3 separate regions of the Homo sapiens genome follow, and regions 2 and 3 are each linked to region 1. Evidence: promoter capture Hi-C in 16 types of primary human blood cells and fetal thymus (Javierre and others, 2016). All regions are on one chromosome and are shown on one strand. Each heading gives the region's core, a stretch centred on a gene start or on the middle of the fragment in contact. The rest is flanking DNA. Distances are from core to core; before and after follow the strand shown. Region 1 holds the start of F2R (coagulation factor II thrombin receptor). Region 2 overlaps IQGAP2 (IQ motif containing GTPase activating protein 2). Region 3 has its middle 33 kb from the start of IQGAP2.

What was found. The method cuts DNA at HindIII sites, captures the fragments that hold promoters and counts their contacts. A CHiCAGO score of 5 or more calls a contact.
Region 2: a contact is called between a fragment that was not itself captured here and the fragment with the promoter of F2R in region 1, in 1 of 17 cell types (megakaryocytes). The highest score is 6.2, in megakaryocytes.
Region 3: a fragment that was not itself captured here is called in contact with the fragment with the promoter of F2R in region 1 in 1 of 17 cell types (megakaryocytes); the score reaches 5.0 in megakaryocytes.

Annotation. Positions count from the first base shown.
Region 1 is chr5:76,714,023-76,717,534 of GRCh38, forward strand. It overlaps F2R (coagulation factor II thrombin receptor), which reads left to right and starts at 2,104. Exons shown (of 2, transcript NM_001992.5): 1 at 2,104-2,373. The coding sequence starts at 2,286. RefSeq lists a silencer at 1,910-2,159. The HindIII fragment of the contact is 2,891 bases long and covers 457-3,347 here.
Region 2 is chr5:76,414,158-76,417,211 of GRCh38, forward strand. All of the region lies in intron 1 of IQGAP2 (IQ motif containing GTPase activating protein 2), which reads left to right. Among named protein-coding and RNA genes, the nearest start is that of IQGAP2, 12 kb to the left of the region's middle. The HindIII fragment of the contact is 1,469 bases long and covers 609-2,077 here.
Region 3 is chr5:76,368,748-76,372,252 of GRCh38, forward strand. No RefSeq gene overlaps it. Among named protein-coding and RNA genes, the nearest start is that of IQGAP2, 33 kb to the right of the region's middle. RefSeq lists an enhancer at 3,117-3,505. The HindIII fragment of the contact is 3,807 bases long and covers 1-3,262 here.

The DNA.
Region 1 (3,512 bases), core at 854-3,353:
AGAGGAAGGAAGGAAGAGAGGAAGGAAGGAAGGAAGAGAGGGAGGGAGGAAGGAAGGAAGGAAGGAAGGAAGGAAGGAAGGAAGGAAGGAGGGGAAACTTAGTGGTCAGATGGCAACTAGGGGAGGGGAGGCAGAAGGTAATTTATTTTTCATTTCATATCCTTCAACTATCAGAAATTTTGTCATATGTGTTTATATTTTCCACTGTGTTTCATTGATTCTAAAATGCCTTTTCTTCATAACCCTGAAATTGGAGTGTTTCTTACAATCATTGGTATGTCACATTTTTTTCTGGCTTGTGGTAATGGGTTAAAATGATAAATTGTAAAATCAATGACGTCTTAGGAATAATGAAAAATAGTTTAATAGTGAATGAAGAACTATGTAATTTTAACTGTTCACATTTACTCTTGGGTATGTTTCCAGAGGATAACTGAACGGGGATAGATTTTAAAAAGCTTTATTTAACTGGGTACTTCCGCAATTTAGTGATCAACTTCTGTGTACAACAAGGTACTGTCCTTTGAGGATGATGGGAGAATACAGGGAAGAACGAAATCGCCTCTGATCGTACTTTCTCCACGGATGTAAGTGTCCGGGCTCTAGTGGGGGAATGATACTCTTCGTGCGAAATTCACTTTTAAAAAAGGCTTAGAAAACTGACCACCGGCTCTCAGCTGCAGCTTATCAACCACAGAACTCCGAATATGCCCGCACATCAGTGCGCTGGGTTAAGAGGAGAAGGGGCTGCGGCTGAGCTTTCCTAGAAACAGCTATTTGGGGACCCATTTCCTGTTGGAGTCTGAAAGGCGCACGCACCAGAGCCAGTGGCAAAGCAACTTAAGCTGCAGGCTCCTCCTGCCCACCCCCAGCCGCGACGCCCCTGGGGGCCCTTAGCAGACTGCCAAGCGAGTGTCCCCGCCCTGTGCCTTGAATTTAGCCAAACTCCTTTAATATCAGGCCTGGCGCGGTGATTCACGCCTGTAATCCCCGCACTTTAGGAGGCTGAGGCAGGAGGATCGCTTGAGGCCAGCAGTGAAATTAGCCGGACATGGTGGCGCGCGCCTTTCTGTGGTCCCAGGTAATCCGGAGGCTGGGGCGAAAGGGTGGCCTGAGCCAGGGAGATCGAGGCTGCAGTGAGCCGTGTTGGCGCCACTGCACTCCAGCCTGGGCGACAGGGCAAGACCCTGCCTCAAAAACAAAACAAACTGTAATATCGTTCAAGAACGTGTGAAGGACACTTGGAAAGTTACCAGGCCATTTCTCTCCTGGGCGCCCGCGGCCCTAGAACGCCGGCCTCACCGGCAGACGCGCGCCCTCCTCCCAGATGCGCAGGTGACCCCGGCGGGCGGCGCGGGAAAGGGAAGAGCTCCGCGAGGCCGCGCGGGGGGGAAGCGGGAGAAGCCGCTCTTCCTATTCCACTCGCAGTCTGCGTGTGGGGGAAACGAGTGCCCGGCGTATGAAACGCCTAACTTCGCGAAATAAAGAGAGACGTATAAAAGTTCAAGAATTCTGTCCAGACTCAAGGGCCCTTTCTCATTTAGGGGCAACCCTGTCACTACATCATAAACTTTTAAATCCGTGATCCCCACGTTACAAAAGCAGAAGTCCCTTTTAGACTTTTAGCGAAAACTGAACTTTGCCGGTGTCCCACACGGAGGGAGGGAGGACGGGAGGCCACGCCAGGGCTGCGGGGCTGCAGGGCGTGGACGCATCCTGGCCGGGGCGTCCACTGTCGACGTCTCCACATCCCAGGAGGGTCGAGACGGCCGCGGGAAGCAGCCTGCGAGCCGTGCGGCCCCATTCCAAGGACCCCGCCAGTGTGAGTCACTGACAGCTTCGCGAATCAACGGTGCCCAGAGGAAAAAACTTCTCATTTGGACTTCTAGGCCCGGCAGTGGCCGGCGGCCAGGGCCCCCCAGTAGGGCAGGGCGGGGCGGGGCGGGGCGCACAGAGCCAGAGGGGCTTGCGAGCGGCGGCTGAGGGACCGCGGGGAGGGGGCGCCGAGCGGCTCCAGCGCAGAGACTCTCACTGCACGCCGGAGGGCGCCCTTCCTCGCTCGCGCCCGCGCGACCGCGCGCCCCAGTCCCGCCCCGCCCCGCTAACCGCCCCAGACACAGCGCTCGCCGAGGGTCGCTTGGACCCTGATCTTACCCGTGGGCACCCTGCGCTCTGCCTGCCGCGAAGACCGGCTCCCCGACCCGCAGAAGTCAGGAGAGAGGGTGAAGCGGAGCAGCCCGAGGCGGGGCAGCCTCCCGGAGCAGCGCCGCGCAGAGCCCGGGACAATGGGGCCGCGGCGGCTGCTGCTGGTGGCCGCCTGCTTCAGTCTGTGCGGCCCGCTGTTGTCTGCCCGCACCCGGGCCCGCAGGCCAGGTGAGAGATGCACGGGAATGGGGTGCGCGGGCGGAGGGACGCCGAGGGGAGACTGCGGGGGTCACTGTTGCGCCTTCTCCTCACCCCTGCCTCAGTTTCCTCCGAAAGCCAAACTGGCATTTGGGCTGAGATCTGGAGTTTTTTCCAGTCACGTTTAGGTGGGGCGTGCCACCCCCTTCGCGGGCCCAGCCGATGCCCCTTTGGACTCGATCTTGGAGGGTGCAGCCCGCCTGCCACGGGGTGTTGGATATGGAGGAGGATGGAGCGGAAGCCCCCTGGGGGAGCCTGCAGTCCTGCGTTGCACTTGTCATTGTGTTTCTCCCAGGACCACCCCCAAAAAGAAAAGCTCTCACGTTGCTCCACCAATAAACGTTTCGATCTTTAAAATATAAAGTGGCGAACCGCTGCCGCTGAAGTTTTGCTTTGTTGGAAGTTTTTTTCTTGCACATTTTACAGGCGAGAAAAGTGATGTAGAGAAAAGCCCAGGCAGTCCCTTGGCATGTTTAGCAGAGAATCAGTACCAGCAGCCCCCGGCCCGGCCTTGTGTCCAGGAGGTGCGCAGGGTGCGAGATATATGGTGACAATAGCAGAGGCTCCGCGTGGTGGCGGGGGAGGGGACATGGAGAGGATTTTGTTGTTACCTAGAACCCATTCCTTCTAAGTGAGTTGAAGAGAGAGATCCCTCCCCAGGACCGGGCTCCCTCGAACACTGTGGGATCCCAGTATTTCTTAACGAGATTTCTGATCCACTGCAAGAAGGTTGCTCCCCTAGAATATTTTCCCCACTAGTAGTCTATTTTTAAGTATCTGGCCACTTGACCAAATAAATAAATTTGATTAATTTATTTGGTCAAATATTTTCTGTATCCCTTTCCCCAAGAGCAGCACAGATGAGTTGTTTTTAGCCTGTAAAGGCGCTAATTAGAAAGTGAGAAAAGTGTTTTTGAATTTCCTAATAACAATAGTATTTTATAAGCTTTGAGCCATTTTTTTTACGCTGAAAGAAGTTCTAGCGGGTTTTCTTGTTATCGCTAAAAGAATGTGCACTCTATATTGCTCCCACACTCAAAAAAAAGTGTAGACACATCAAGATTAAGAGGTGACAAAGACATAGCATGTTCTCGCCTCTCTGTCTTTGT
Region 2 (3,054 bases), core at 93-2,592, 300 kb before region 1:
ATTCCTCACCTCCCCAAAAGGGGACCATTGTAATCAGCCAGTCTTGGTCCTTGAGATTGTCACTTTTCTGTTTTTTGCCCCAGTCCTACACGAAGCAGGCTTCTCAGGGTGGGATGAGGAGCCTGGTAAGATAGTCACATAGTCAGCCTCATGAAATATGACTCCCCATTCACCTGCCCCCTAAACTGTGCTTCCTCAGGTAAGATCTAGTAAGGCAGCCCACCAGAGCCTCGCTGCATGTTGAACTCTTAGGAAGTTTGTCCAAGAAATGGTAGTTATAGAGCTAATACAAACATGCTTTTGCTCTCATTCTGTTCTCTACTAATGAGTTTTATTTTCCAAAAAGAAACAAAGATACATTTATTTGTAAAGAATATATAAGGCCGGATATGGTGGCTCAAGCCTGTAATCCCAGCACTTTGGGAGGCTAAGGCAGGAGGATTGCTTAAGGCCAGGAGTTCAAGACCATCTGGGCAACGTAGCAAGACCTTGTTTCTACAAAAACAAAATAAAAAATGAATATATAAAGATAATTTTTTCCTCCATGAGAACCAGGGTCACGTGAGGCCCTTCCCTGCTTTGGCACTGATTCTGGTGATAGTCTCAAAAGCTTCCTTCCTCAGTTCTCCAGTCTAATCTTTGCTATTAGTTTGAATTGGTTAACAGGTTGGAGGATTGTGCTTGCTTATTCCTCTTCACTGGACTCTGCCTGTAACTTTTCACATTAGATTAGGGGAACTCTGAGAAAGAAGTGGAGCTTATAATGTGCTTCTGTATTGTAGCTTTGATATCTCTGAAAACGTGTACCTTTCTCTGCTAAGCAGGACAAATAAGACAAACCAAACAGGGAGGGACATCCTCATCCTGTGGACATGTGAATATTTCTAGAAGGTTATGCAAATAATCTAGAAGGTTATAATATCTTTTTAGAAGTTGCCTTTGGGAAGAGGGACTGGGGGCAGGAGTGGGAATGCGATTTGAAATAGTTTTCACCATATGCCGTATTACCCTTTGAAAAAATAAAGCAAATGTGTGTTTTGGAAAAATATGTTTTGAGAATAATGTGGACAAAATAGAACAGCAGTAAAATCCATGAGGAATCAGGACTGTATCTTTTGGTCAATGCTGTATCCCCACTGTCTGGTACATAGGTCAACATGGCAGCAGTGATTCTGTGTAGGTAATGAGATATTTTGTGATTAATATTTTTTCTTCCTCAAATTTTCAGCTATACATGTTTTTATAGTTAGACTGTAACAGTTGAGTTGGAAAAATTGTAAGTTACCCTTTGCTGCTCAAGATACAAAGTTCTCTTTGGCTACAAACTTTGCCTTATGAAAATTAGTCTGAAAGATAGATCAGTTATTATTGGAAGGATTCAGTGGCTATCTAATTTTCCAAGTGTGTATGTGTGTACATGCATAGAGAATGAGGGACAGAAATGTTAAGAGGCCCAGGACTCTATAGCTGTTAAACTGTTGTAGTTAATAATTTGTGAAAGGGGCCAGGCACAGTGGTTCCCACCTGTAATCCCACCACTTTGGGAGGCTGAGGCAGGCAGATCACTGGAGGCCAGGAGTTCAAGACCAACCTGGCCAATGTAGTGAAACCCTGTCTCTATTAAAAATACAAAAAATATTAGCTGGGTATGGTGGCATGTGCCTGTAATCCCAGCTACTCCGGAGGCTTAGGCAAGAGAATCCCTTGAACCCAGGAGGTGGAGGTTGCAGTGAGCCGAGATCATGCCACTGCACTCCAGCCTGGGCAACAGAGGGTAACTGTCTCAAAAAAAAAAAAAAAATGTGAAAAGAAAGTGTGTAGGAAGCAGATCTGTAAAAGGTAGTAATGAATCAACTAGTGTCCATGGGGGAAATAAAGGTTGTGACACGAAAGTGGAGTGTTCTCTTGACTCACAAAGTGAACTCTGAAGAGCCTGTGAAGAGGTGAACTACTCATGACCATTCCTTCATTCAACAGGAGGTGCTAGATGCCATGTATAAGGTGGAATTTACATAGGGTTTATGACCAAATGCCTTCAGGGGTCAAATGTGATCACAGCCTGTATAAAATAATAGGAAGCTTTGGAGTGTCTCTCAGCTGGAGAATGCATTTGCTGCTTTCGTCACTCAAATTGGAAGGGAAACATTTGTGAGCAGTGTACAGGCAAAACAAGATAGATTAGTCTTGTTTAGCATCTTGGAAGCTGCCACTGGCCCCAGCATTATGCTGTAAAATGGAGGTAGCCATGGAAGTACCGTGACCTTAGACCAATGAGAGACGAGAAGCACTGTGATAGCAAGACCTGCATCTAGCATCTGAGGACTTAGACTGAGGTGCCACTTACTGTGTGATATTGGGTATAAGTTCTTTGAGCTTTTTTTTTTTTGAGACGGAGTCTCACTCTGTCACCCAGGCTGGAGTGTGCAGTGGCGCGATCTTGGCTCACTGCAGTCTCCGCCTCCCGTGTTCAAGCGATTCTTCTGCCTCAGCCTCCCAAGTAGCTGGGACTACAGGCGCATGCCACCACGCGTGGCTAATTTTTGTATTACTAGTAGGGACAGGGTTTCATCATATTGGCCAGGCTGGTCTCAAACTCCTGACCTCGTGATCCGCCCACCTCGGCTTCCCAAAGTCCTGGGATTACAGGTGTGAGCCAACACACCCGGCCTGAGCTCTTCTTTATTTTTGGAGACAGGGATCTTACTCTATCACCCAGGCTGGAGTGCAGTGACATCATCACAGCTCACTGCAGCCTCCAGCTCCTGGGCTCAAGTGATCCTCCTACCTCAGCCTTCTGAGTAGATGGGACCATAGGCATGCACCGCTATGCCCAGCTAATTAAAAAAAATTTTTTTTTGTAGAAACAGTCTTGCCATGTTGCCCAGGCTGGTCTGAGCTTCTTTCTACATTTGAAAAGTGGGTTTATGTTTACCCTGTCTCAAAAGAGGGTGAGGTATGGGAGATTGCTCTGAAAATTGTTCAAGTGTGTGTGTGTGTCTACAGTGGGGAGGGATTTACCACTTATTTGAATAATTCTTTGGTGAAGTCTTATTA
Region 3 (3,505 bases), core at 109-2,608, 350 kb before region 1:
GGCTAATTTTTGCATTTTTAGTAGAGACGGGGTTTCACCATGTTGGTCAGGATGGTCTCGAACTCCTGACCTTGTGATCCGCCCACCTCAGCCTCCCAAAGTGTTGGGATTATAGGCATGAGCCACCACGCCCAGCCAGGACTTCTATTTTCTTCAAACATCTCTCTTGCTCTTGCTCTCTCTATTTCTCTTTTAGACCCACAGACCTGTGGTGTTTTCTGTCTGGAATACCCCCTCTACATCCTCTAGGCCTAGCTGAAATGTCTGCTCCTCAAGGAAGTTTTCTCAGACTCCCACACTGCATCCAGCTTCCTCTGTTATAAGCCCCTTGCTATTACACCTTGTACTTCCTCTTTCAAAATATTCCTCCTGTTTATAATTGTTTGTTTAATATCCGTCTTTCCTGTTGACTGAGGCTCAATAAAAGCAGGAATTTCTCTCTTGTCATTGCTGTTTCCTCAATATCTGGTCTAGCTCCTGACACTTAATGAAACTTAATAAACATTTATGGAATGAGTGAGCTTTTGTTATCATGCTATCTGGGCATAATATTTTTTATTTGAGAAGAATGAATGACCCCCAACAATCTCAATGTTGGGCAGAACCAAAGTAAGATGTTTTGGAATTGCACTAGTGGTAGGAAAAACAAAATGTTTTCCTCTGCTGTCACGCCACACAACAATAAACACAGAAAACTTCTGTGATGAAATGTGGGGGAGTGGCTGGGCGCGGTGTCTCATGCCTGTAATCCCAGCACTCTGGGAGGCTTAGGTGGGTGGATCACCTGAGGTCAGGAATTCAAGACCAGCCTGGCCATGGTGAAACCCCGTCTCTACTAAAAATACAAAAAATTAGCCAGGCATGGTGGTGCGCACCTATAATCCCAGCTACTCAGGAGGCTGAGGCAGGAGAATCGCTTGAACCCGAGAGGCGGAGGTTGCAGTGAGCCAAGATCGCACCATTGCACTCCAGCCTGGGCAACAAGAGCGAAACTCTATCTCAAAAAAAAAAAAAAAAAAAAGAAAGAAAGAAAGAAAGAAATGCGGGGGATTCTCCCCACCACAAGCAAGCAATCGATACCGCAGCAGACACCAGCTGGGTGCCCTCCAATTCAATTCTGACACTGTCTACCTGGAGATAGCATCAGATCCCACAGACCAAGGGCTCAGTGCCAAAAATTCAACTCCCTCTTCAGACACAAGTGACAAGTCCAGGCATCCAGAACCTCTGACTGACCAGCTTCAAGTTGGGATTCCAACAAACCAGTCTTTGGATGCGATTTATTTGCTAGAGTAGCTCACAGAACTCAAGGAAACAATTACTTATATTTACTAGATTATTCCTAAGGATATTTTAATAGATACAAATAAACAACTAGATGAAGAGAAACATAGGGTAAGGTCTGAGTGCAGGCACTTCTGTCCTCATGGTATTGGGATGGGCCACTCTCCTGGCCCTTGCATGAGTTCTTCTTAACCGTTCACCCTCCCGGAAACCTCCACATGTTTGGCTACCCAGAAGGTTTTTGTTTTGTTTTGTTTTGTTTTGCTTTGTTTTGTTTTGTTCTGAGACGGAGTTTCGCTCTTATTTCCCAGGCTAAAGTGCAATAGCACGATCTCGGCTCACTGCAACCTCCGCCTCCCAAGTTCAAGCAATTCCTCCTGCCTCAGCCTCCTGACTAGCTGGGATTATAGGCACTTGCCAACATGCCCAGCTAATTTTGTATTTTTAGTAGAGACAGGGTTTTTCCATGTTGGTCAGGCTGGTCTCGAACTCCCAGCCTCAGGTGATCCTCCCACCTCAGCCTCCCAAAGTGCTGGGATTAAAGGAGTGAGCCACTACACTTGGCCTTTTTTTTTTTTCTTTTTTCTTTTGAGACAGTCTGGCTCTGTCACCCAGGCTGGAGTGCAGTGGCATGATCTTGGCCCTCTGCAACCTGCGCCTCCTGGGTTCAAGAGATTCTCGTGCCTCAGCCTCCCAAGTAGCTGGGATTACAGGTGTATGCTACCATACCTGGCTAACTTTTGTATTTTTATTAGAGAAGAGGTTTCACCATGTTGGCCAGGCTGGTCTCAAACTCCTGACCTCAGGTGATCTGCCCTCCTTGGCCTCCCAAAGTGCTAGGATTACAGATGTGAGCCACTATGCCCAGCCTTATCCAGAAGTTCTTGAACCCTGTCTTCTGGGCCAAGTTCTTGAACCCTGTCTTCTGGGCCATTTATGGAGACTTCATTGGATAGGCATGATTGAAGTATGGATAACCTGGTTCAAATGTGATTGGACAAAAAGGGTATGATCTGGTCGGGCGCAGTGGCTCACGCCTGTAATCCCAGCACTTTGAGAGGCCGAGGCTGGCAGATCATGAGGTCAAGAGATTGAGACCATCCTGGCCAACATGGTGAAACCCCGTCTGTACTAAAAATACAAAAATTAGCTGTGTGTGGTGGTGCACACCTGTAGTCCCAGCTACTTGGGAGGCTGAGGCAGAAGAATCGCTTGAACCCAGGAGGCGGAGGTTACAGTGAGCTGAGATCATGCCACTGCACTCAACCTGGTGGCAGAGTGAAACTCCGTCTCAAAAAAAAAAAAAAAGGTATGATCTAAACCCAGCAAGTCCTGTTCTGTCTGTTCAGATTCTTCCTGGCCTCTCTGTACAGCATTTCTACCTCTAGGGTACGGGGCAGGACCCTCTCTGGAATAAGGGTCTCATGACCCACAATCAGATTAGGGTCCTGCCATGGGGAGGTCAAAGGAAGGCAGGGAAAGACCAGAGAGAGAGATATTCTTTTTACTGTAATAAGGGCTGTGGGAGTTATGAGCCAGGAACTGTGTATGAAAACCAATATGTGTGGCAGGGTGTGGTGACTGACACCTGTCATCCCAGCACATTGGGAGGCCAACACAGGAGGATTACTTGAGCCCAGGAGTTTGAGACCAGCCTGAACAACATAGTGAGACCCCATCTGTAAAATAATAAAAATAAAAAAATTAGTTGGGCATGGTGACATGCGCCTGTGGTCCCAGCTACTTGAGAGGTTAAGGTGGGAGGATAGCTTGAGCCCAAGAGGCTGAGAATGCAGTGAGCCCTGATTTGTGCCACTGCCCTCCAGCCTGGACAATAGAGCAAGACTCTATTTCAAAAAACAAAATGAAACAAACAAATGAAGAAAAAATATACATTTATAAATATAAAATATAAAAAAAAAACGTACATATAATAGCACAACTAGCATATTGAAAAATTGTATCTGGACAGGTGGGAAGCTTTCCAAGTATGTTCTTGGGAAATGACTCAGGACAGTAAATGACTGGCAGGCAGGTAGGAAGGGGGCCAGGCCCTGTGGTAGACCAAGTAACAAACAGGTCCCAGAGCAGGGAGGACAGGGGCAATGTTCCTCTCTCTGCACACACTCCACCTTCTGACTCCCCCACCTCACCCCAGCAGCCTCAAAGGAGCCTCTCCAGGGCCACGCTGGAATGGCAAACATGGGATTTTTTTTGCTGA